2 separate regions of the Homo sapiens genome follow, and region 2 is linked to region 1. The links are contacts of gene promoters, found by promoter capture Hi-C in human tissues and cell types (Jung and others, 2019). All regions are on one chromosome and are shown on one strand. The core of a region is centred on a gene start or on the middle of the fragment in contact, and the rest is flanking DNA. Distances in the headings are between cores, read along the strand shown. Region 1 holds the start of G6PC2 (glucose-6-phosphatase catalytic subunit 2). Region 2 overlaps CERS6 (ceramide synthase 6).

Region 1 (4,786 bases), core at 1,558-4,057:
CCTCCCGGGTTTCAAGCGATTCTCCTGCCTCAGCCTCCCGAGTAGCTGGGACTACAGTAGCCCACCACAATGCCCAGCTAATTTTTGTATTTTTTTTTTAGTAGAGATGGTGTTTTACCATGTTGGCCAGGCTGGTCTTAAACTCCTGACCTCAAGTGATCCGCCCACCTCGGCCTCCCAAAGTGCTGGGATTACAGGCGTGAGCCACTGCGCCCGGCCCAACCTACCATCTTAGGCGCCCGTGCGAACTTTTCCAGCTTCATGGGTAATTGGCTTCTACACGGGCCTGTTATGGGAACTGTGCTTGTGGCTGTTGCACAAAGTGGACAGGACCCCTTGTTTTATGGAGCTTATACTGTAGTACAGGAGAGAGATGCTAAATATATACACTTGTCATAAATATATAATTATAAATTGTGTTTAACTCCCGGTTATGGGCTGAACTGTATTCCCTCAAATTCATGTTGAAGTCCTAAGCCCCAGTACCTCCCAAAATGACTGTGTTTGGTGATAGGGTCTTTAAAGGGGTGATTAAGTTAAAATGAGGTCATTAGTATCTTCCTTAATCCAATAAGACTGGTATCCTTATAAAAAGAGGAGATTAGAACACACCCATATAGCGGGGAAGACCATGTGAAGACATAGAGAGTAGACAGTCATCTGCAAGCCAAGGACAGAGGCTCAGAAGAAATCAACGCCACCGACGCGTTGATTCAGACTCCTAGTTTCCTATATTTCTGTTGTGTAAGCCACCCAGTCTGGTATTTTGTTATAGCAGCCCTAGCAGACTCAAACAACCCCCTAGGAGAAAAGAGTGTGTGAGAGAAAGTATTGTCAGAGGAGTGGTGAGGATGCTGGTCAGAGAAGGCATCACCGATGGATGCATAGAAGCTAAGATATGAAAAGACTAAAAATGATGAACTACGAGGAATAAGCAGATTAGCAGATGCTGTTAAAGGGTGAAAGAAATCAAGATGCTTTTGCTTCACTTAATTATCCCACAGTCTACAGAACCAGGTAGTTCTCGAGAGAAAATCTTTCTAAATTAACTACCATAGATGAAAGGCTAATCACAGACTCTGAGGTGCTGAAGAGCAGGAAGTTTAATTTTTAAGTGGAAGACAAAATGTATTTGATATCATTCACATCCTGATTTAAGGATAAGACATTTCTGAAGAAAATGAGTATTATGAATTACGTAGATCAAACACTTTTTAGAAAAAGAATAAAGGGAAGTTATGCTCTTCCTCATGGCTCATTAAAGAGATTATGGAAATTACAGAACCTGAATATGCAAAACAAAGAAAAGCCAGAAGCATAGACTCTAATTAGTCAAGGATAATTCCTTATATGAATTGCCTTAGTGCAATGATTCTAAGCCCCTTATACCACATTGGAACCACTTGAGAAGTATTTTAATAATACCAATGCCCAAATTCCATTACCAGAAATATAACTGATCTCAGGTGGAACACAGTTATGGCAATTTAAAAAGCACCCCAAAAGATGTTAATGGTCAGTCAATGCATTTCTTCCAGGTAAGGTACCAATAGACACTGAAGCCCAGTAACAATGGTGCTGTTAAATGATGGGACACAAAACTCGAAGAGAAGTTCAAAGTGATAGTTATAGCCTGTGAAGGACTCTAGTGAAGTCTTTTGTCTTTACTTAGGCCATGGTAAGCAAAGACAAAAATCTGAATGACAAAATAACAAGTAAGGTTACCTAGATCCATCCCTGGCCACCTTGTGAGGCTTTGTTGCTTTCCCACTAATCCTAGACACAATCCAGCTCTCTAAACCCAACATCTCTCTGACTTAGATCCATAGCCTCTTTGTGCTACCCTTCTGTTCATTCTCAGTCTACCCTGGTCCATAGTCCAGGGTCCAGTCGTAGTCTATAGTCCAGGACCAGAGTCCTGGTCTATAGTCTAGTCATAGTCCACAGCCGTAGATTATGGACCTATGACTTAGATCCACAGCCTCTTTGCGCTACCCTTCTGTTCATTCTTAGCATTTGTTTGGTGCTTTCCACTTCTGTTTAACACTCTGTTCTCAACAAACCATTTTCCTGATTGGTCAAAAGCCCTTTGATGTCTATTCCTATCTTTGTCACATGAATCATTCCCTATTCCTCTCAACTGTATTCTCTAGTTAATAAAAGATACAATTTGATCCTAACACATTTCTATTATCCAAATGACTTTCATTTCTGCTTTCTTGTCTTATAGTCAAAAAACAACACATTTCTTTCCCTGTTCCATATATATTCTATCATTCTCTTGGATAAAGAAAATTGAACTATTCTTATTTTAAATCAGTGATCAGAACATAATCTGTCATATCATATATTTTTCATACCCAGATATTTATTCAACCATTTTCCTCAAAGACCCAATAAAATAGAGAGCCACAGCCTATCTTAAATTAAAATGCAGGGCTTTATGGGCTATTTGACATGCAATAATTATTTGCAAAGTCTTTTCACCAAACATAGAAATTGCTAATGTCTGACCTTGGAGGAAATGAACTGTACAAAAAATTTCAAGCAAACATGATCCAACTGTTCGCACAAAAGGGAGGTTGCATAAGAAATTCATTGTGTTTCTATCCAAATTTCCCCCTCGAATTGCCACAGATCAGCATGTACTTCACTCTTTGCCACCAATTAAAATCATAAATAGATGAGCTATTCAGCAGAGGAGGGCTGGTGTGCCCTCTCCACAGATGGTCAGCATCACATGTTGCAGTAATGGCTCGACATGCCACAAAGGCACAGTATAAAAACGGTGGGAATCAGAGCACTTCAGCTCCAATTGCTCTATGTTTAGAATTGCCTCTTTTTCAAGATGGATTTCCTTCACAGGAATGGAGTGCTCATAATTCAGCATTTGCAGAAGGACTACCGAGCTTACTACACTTTTCTAAATTTTATGTCCAATGTTGGAGACCCCAGGAATATCTTTTTCATTTATTTTCCACTTTGTTTTCAATTTAATCAGACAGTTGGAACCAAGATGATATGGGTAGCAGTCATTGGGGATTGGTTAAATCTTATATTTAAATGGTAAGATTTCTGTTTTATTTCATTTTTTCCTAAGATTTATCCTTAAATTTGTGACTTCGGCATAATGATCACATTTCAGATGTATATCGTTTTACTTGGAAAATCTTTCAAAAATACCAGGTAACTTGAAACACCAGATTCATAAGTAGAACTTTTAAAAGGCACAGAAATGTATATATATGTTTTTGTTTTTTTTTTTTTTTTGAGACAGAGTTTTGCCCTTGTTGCCCAGGATGGAGTGCAATGGCGTGATCTCGGCTCACTGCAACCTCTGCCTCCCAGGTTCAAGCAATTCTCTCACCTCAGCCTCCCGAGTAGCTGGGATTACAGGCATGTGCCACCACACCCAGCTAATTTTGTATTTTTAGTAGAGACAGGGTTTCTCTATGTTGGTCAGGCTGGTCTCTAACTCCCGACCTCAGGTGATCCACCGACTTCGGCTTCCTAAAGTGCTGGGATTACAGGTGTGAGCCACCACGCCAGGCCAGAAATGTGTACTTTAATGACTTATAAGTAATTCCCAAACCCCTGTAACACATATTCTGTGATTAAGAATTACTTACATGAGCAGCGTGATAATGAACAAATTGATAATTCTAGGGACAAATTTTGATATTTCCAGTCTAAGTATCCAAAGCACCCATAAGACATTCCCTGCAAGGGAAAAAAGCCCCCATGTTCATGGGAAACCAGGGTGCCAAAATACCAAATGGCTACCACCTTTAATAATGTGTGAGAGACCAAGACCTAAGTTTTTTCAAAGTCTCTTAATCATGAACTTTCACAATTAACCCTGCGCTTGAGTCATTTTTTATAGGAAAGAATTGCTAATCTCCAATTAAATAATAGCTGTGTATTTAAATATATATGCATGTTTATAATTCTTTAAATACAGGATATTATTTGGTCATCGACCTTACTGGTGGGTCCAAGAAACTCAGATTTACCCAAATCACTCAAGTCCATGCCTTGAACAGTTCCCTACTACATGTGAAACAGGTCCAGGTAAGCTATTACAGCAGGCTCCAGTTACTGAAGATCTTCCAATAGAGAATCATTACACAGGGTTATCATCTAGGAACTGATATTATATAGGGTAGTAAAGAAAATCTCATGAGTGAGGATGCTAAAACTTCATAACAATCAAAATTACTAATGAGGAAGCAAAGCAAAAAAAATACTCAAATTCCATTTTGTTATTTATGAAAGGGTAGATTGGGAGAAAACTCCCCCAGTGATTAAATATTTGGTGTTTACTTTTCAGAAGAATATAATGACTTGATACTAAAACAAGAAACAGTTAACTAGAACAAATTCTCAAGGAACTAGACTAAGATCTTAGAAATGTTGGTTAATCTGCTGCTAAGCAACTTTCAAAGTTACTATAGGTCTTCCGAGTATCTCACGAATGAGGGAGGAGTAGACAAGTCTTCTGTAAGAAAGGTAAGGACTTCTCAATGTTACTATAGCCAGTAAAGACTATTTCTAACCCTAGAACAATCTCTTTAAAACATATTTTTTCTCTGTACACAAGTAGGCTTCTTGGGCCACTTCTTTTTTATTCTAGGTAAGATTCTGTATGAGTATAAAATCTTTATTGTGATAGTTGATTCTAAGACTGTTTTAAAAAGTTTTTTGAAACATATATTTAAAAATTACATTTTAATTTATAAGAATGTGTTATATTGTACCTCATCATTTTACATAGCATAACATTCTC
Region 2 (4,447 bases), core at 1,534-4,033, 130 kb before region 1:
ACAAAAGGACAAATACTATATGAATCTACTTTTATGCGGTGCCTAAAGTAGTCAAATTCACAGAGACAGGAAGGAGAATGGTGGTTGATGCAGGCTGGAAGAATGGGTGCCGAATCTTGGTTTTGAAAGATGAAAAGTGTGCTGAGCATGTATGGCAGTGATGGTTACACAACAATGTGAATGTACTTAAAGCCAGTGAACCGTACACTTAAAAAAGTCAAGATGGTAAATTTTATGTTATATTTATTTTATCATTTTTAAAGAAGTGAATAGGGAAAAATATATTAATTAACCTAAAACCAAATGAAAGTCACACCATCAGGGTAATTCTTCAGGAAATGACATTTCTAAGTACCTGGCAAGCTTTCACACCATCCTGCCAGAGAGGGGGTAGTTGGGAGATATTGTTGACCTTGTGCTTTAATGCAGTGACTAGAGTTCCTTGGAAAGCAAAGGAAAATGCCACATTCACTAATCACCTCCTTCTTTTCCTTAGGGTGTTAAATACCACATTATTTGAAAGCTGGGAGATCGTTGGACCTTACCCTTCCTGGTGGGTTTTTAACCTACTGCTATTGCTAGTACAAGGGTTGAACTGCTTCTGGTCTTACTTGATTGTGAAAATAGCTTGCAAAGCTGTTTCAAGAGGCAAGGTAAGCTACAACTCACTTTTTCCAATATGTCTTAAAAAATTTTGTTTTTGTAATTTCTCTGGATCAACTATTTACTATTCCATATTTCATCAAAATTGGTAGTATTTCTTCAGAATTGAGCAAAAATTGAGTCATTTCCTTTTCTAGTTCATTTTTTAAGTCTTCAGTGTTCCTTTGCTGGCGATGGCACCCAATGATATGCATTTGTAATTTTAGACTTAATAATATATTATTTGTTGTGTTCGCTCTCCCTCTTCCTGTCAACCTTGGACCTCCTCTGATTATATTTATACTGAACAGAAATTTAATCACTTCTTTCCTTTTATGAGAAGGGTCGCTTGGTGCTGTATGCCGGTTTAAACAAACCTTTCTTTCAAACTGAAAAACAAATCTGTTCATGACTTCCAACAAGATTTAGTTAAATCTTTTTGGTTAAAAGTGGACTTGAGGTTGATTCGAATAAAGCTTCCTAAGCCTCAGCCCCAACCCTGTGTGTAGAGCAGAGACTTTTCCAGATCATTCTCTGTGACATTTTCTTACTTGTTTGTTCTCTTCCTTCTGCTACCCTGGAAGGCTGGGAAGTGGAACCCTTTACATGTAAGTTTCTCCTCCTCTCTCTCTATCCCTGTCCTGAGTGCCTCTTGCCTGTTGGAGGGGCACTCAGATGCTTTTGTTTCCACGCATATTGTTCTGTCTAACCTATTGGCACTGTCTAGAGGCTTCATGTGAGCTGTAGCTCTGTGAACTGCAAGAGACACTAGAGACAGCTCTGTTAGGGCCCTTTGGTGTGAGCTTGTATTCTGCTAAATGTTGCATGATCCAACAGAGAAGAAGAATTTCTTTCACTACCCCCTCTCTGACAGGATGGTGTGAAAGCTTGCCAGGTACTTGCCAGGTTTAATGTGTTGGCTAAAAGACAGAAATAGACCAAAGTAAAGTAGGAGAAACAGAACTAGTTGGAGGGGGAGAGGATCAACACATTGCAGAATGGAGGCCTGAGCATCAGCTGTGGGCCTGACCTGCCTGGGGCCATATGGCAGCACCTGACCACTCTGACTCATCAAGGTCAACAGGGCTGGCCTGTTCTGCAGGGGAAGTCGGGGCATCTAGTCGTGTACTATGAAGCCACTTCTCAGCACCAGCTCTAGTAGAAATCCTAATTATTTTGATCAATTAATTGTTCAGAAGCTAAAGTTCATTTTTCTCTGTGACCTCTCACTCTTTGTAATGAACATGTATTTCTATTTTAAAATCTCCTTGTCCTCATTTGGATACAAATTTAATCAACATGCACAAAACTGTCAATATGATAACAATAACTAAATATGCAAGAATGCTGCTTAGATTACTTGTGTCCTTAATTGCATTGCTATTTCTACCAGACTTGTTGCCTGCTCTTCAACTTATTCCTTCTACTTTATGAAGAGAGATGATGATTAATTTTATTCTAGATCTCAGGCTTCAGAATATCTTAGCTGCCCTTGCGGCTCTCACCTGGGATAGTAAGATTCATCTTGACCATGAGTTATTTTCCTCTGGGCTATTTTGAGATATTCTAAATTGTCCTTTCTTTGAAGGTAACATAAGTATAGATTTTTCTAAGTGCAATTTAAAAAATCTGACTGAGCATGCAAATGTAAATTAATCACTTTGTAAAACTGGAGTTTTCTATTTATGACTAATGGACTTAACAACATAGTGGAACTTTACTATAATGCTGGCTTTGTGACTCACAATGTTTAAGTTCAATTATCTTTAGCCATTTTGGAGTCTTAGTATTTAAATCTTTTTGGAGATGGCCTGTGTGAGTTCAGTCCCATCTCAACGGGTATTGGAGTGAGGTTCACTTTTATGATATTTACTTCATCACCACTGGTTGGCATAAAGCAGTAGTTCTCAGCTTTCAAGTTCTCCTGACCCCACCCACCTGAGAGAGAGGACGTTCTCCCACAGGAACTGTAGTTTCTCAAGTTGGGAGAGGTGGAGGGAGTCCAGGATTCTCATGTTAGAGTGTAGTGGTAACATAGACAGGATGTGATGTGGGAAAGCGCCAGTTAATTCTGCCATACCTCCCAGGAGACTTTGCCACCTCCCCAGCCCACCCCCTAGAGAATCACAGGAGGACCAGATTGGGAAAATTCCTATGAAGGGAGGCCACCAGGTCTCTTTTGTCACACCACTGAAAAATATAAGTAAGCAGTGATGAGTTACTCAAGAATCTTAAGGCCTTCTGGGTAAAAATGCTTACCATAATTTAGACTTACAGAATAGGAGGTTCAAACTATTTTTATCTTAAAAGCAGTATTTTCTTAATTTCCCCCAAAAACTACTTCCTTGCTAAATAGTAGGATTTTTCTCATCGTTTATGGTAATGTATAGATTTACATCTTCTCACCTTATTTTGACCTCCATGTGACTTAGTGAGATTGAATGGAGGATTGAAGAGACTTGGCAGGATGGGAGCCAGTTTTTTTTGTTTTGTTTTGTTTTGTTTTTTTTTTTAAGACAGTTTCACTCATTGCTCTGGCTGGAGTGCAATGGCGCGATCTTGGCTCACCGCAACCTCCACTTCCTGGGCTCAAGCAATTCTCCTGCCTCAGCCTCCAGAGTAGCTGAGATTACAGACATGCGCCACCACACCCGGCTAATTTTTTTTTTTTTTTAAGTTGAGACTGGGCTTCTCCATGTTGGTCAGTCTGGCCTTGAACTCCTGACCTCAGGTGATCCACCCACCTCAGGCTCCCAAAGTGCTGGGATTATAGGCATGAGCCACCTCGCCTGGCTGGGAGCCAGTTCTTGATGATCTAGTCAGTGGATTTTCCTCAGGAAATATTTCAAGCTTCACCCCGCCCAGCAGGTTCTTAAGATGCCTCCTGGCCAGGCACGGTGTCTCACACCTGTAATCCCAACACTTCGGGAGGTCAAGGCAGGTGGATCACCTGAGGTCAGGAGTTCCAGACCAGCCTGGCCAACATAGTGAAACCCTGTCTCTACTAAAAATACAAAAATTAGCTGGGCATGGTGGCTCATGCCTGTAATCCTAGCTACTCGGGAGGCTAAGGCAGGAGAATTGCCTGAACCCAGGAGGCGGAGGTTGCAGTGAGTTGGATCGCACCAGTGCACTCCAGCCTGGGCAACAGAGCAAGACTCTGACTCAAAAAAAAAAAAAAAAAAGAAAAGAAAAAAAAAATGCTTCCTGCTGTCATTTGTTGTGTGACATACAGAACAAAATTCCTAATTAATTATAGCATACAAAAAATAGAAATGTAATCATAAAACAATGCATGAAAAAGCCAAATAGGAATTTTTTTTTTTCAGTGTTCTGAGTTAGTGACTATCTCCATTGCTATGGTTAATTGAGAGCTGATTTTAAATTATTCTCAAGGAGAATGTGATCATCAATGAGTAAATTGATCCATTTGTACCAAATTCCTATGACGCCATTCCAGTGACACAGTATGCTACTTTTTGATTACAAGTGGGATTCATGGTCTAGTATGTTCTCAATATGGAAAGATACCTTAAAGAAGTCAAGAAGTCTAGCCCTCCATGATACTTACATTCCTTCATAAATGACTTTGTCGCCTACATTTTATCTCTCCAATGAAGGGGAACTTATTGCTCTGGCAATGTTCTCATCCTCTTCAGTTTTTTAACATTGGGATCTGTTTCCCCTTGTGTATGACTGCATGTGCTTCTAGCATGCCATACCTTGATGATTTCTTAGGTGCTGGTTATACTCACCTGCTTCTACTCCACAGGTGTCCAAGGATGATCGAAGTGATATTGAGTCT

What was found. Contacts are between HindIII fragments. The study calls those that stand out against the background at their distance.
Region 2: a fragment that was not itself captured here is called in contact with the fragment with the promoter of G6PC2 in region 1 in 1 of the 25 tissues and cell types used here (stomach).

What each region holds. Positions count from the first base shown.
Region 1 is chr2:168,898,484-168,903,269 of GRCh38, forward strand. It overlaps G6PC2 (glucose-6-phosphatase catalytic subunit 2), which reads left to right and starts at 2,808. Exons shown (of 5, transcript NM_021176.3): 1 at 2,808-3,066; 2 at 3,962-4,071. The coding sequence starts at 2,849. The HindIII fragment of the contact is 19,052 bases long and covers 1-4,786 here.
Region 2 is chr2:168,765,096-168,769,542 of GRCh38, forward strand. CERS6 (ceramide synthase 6) reads left to right here. Exons shown (of 10, transcript NM_203463.3): 9 at 497-653; 10 at 4,415-4,447. Among named protein-coding and RNA genes, the nearest start is that of CERS6-AS1, 19 kb to the right of the region's middle. The HindIII fragment of the contact is 4,087 bases long and covers 741-4,447 here.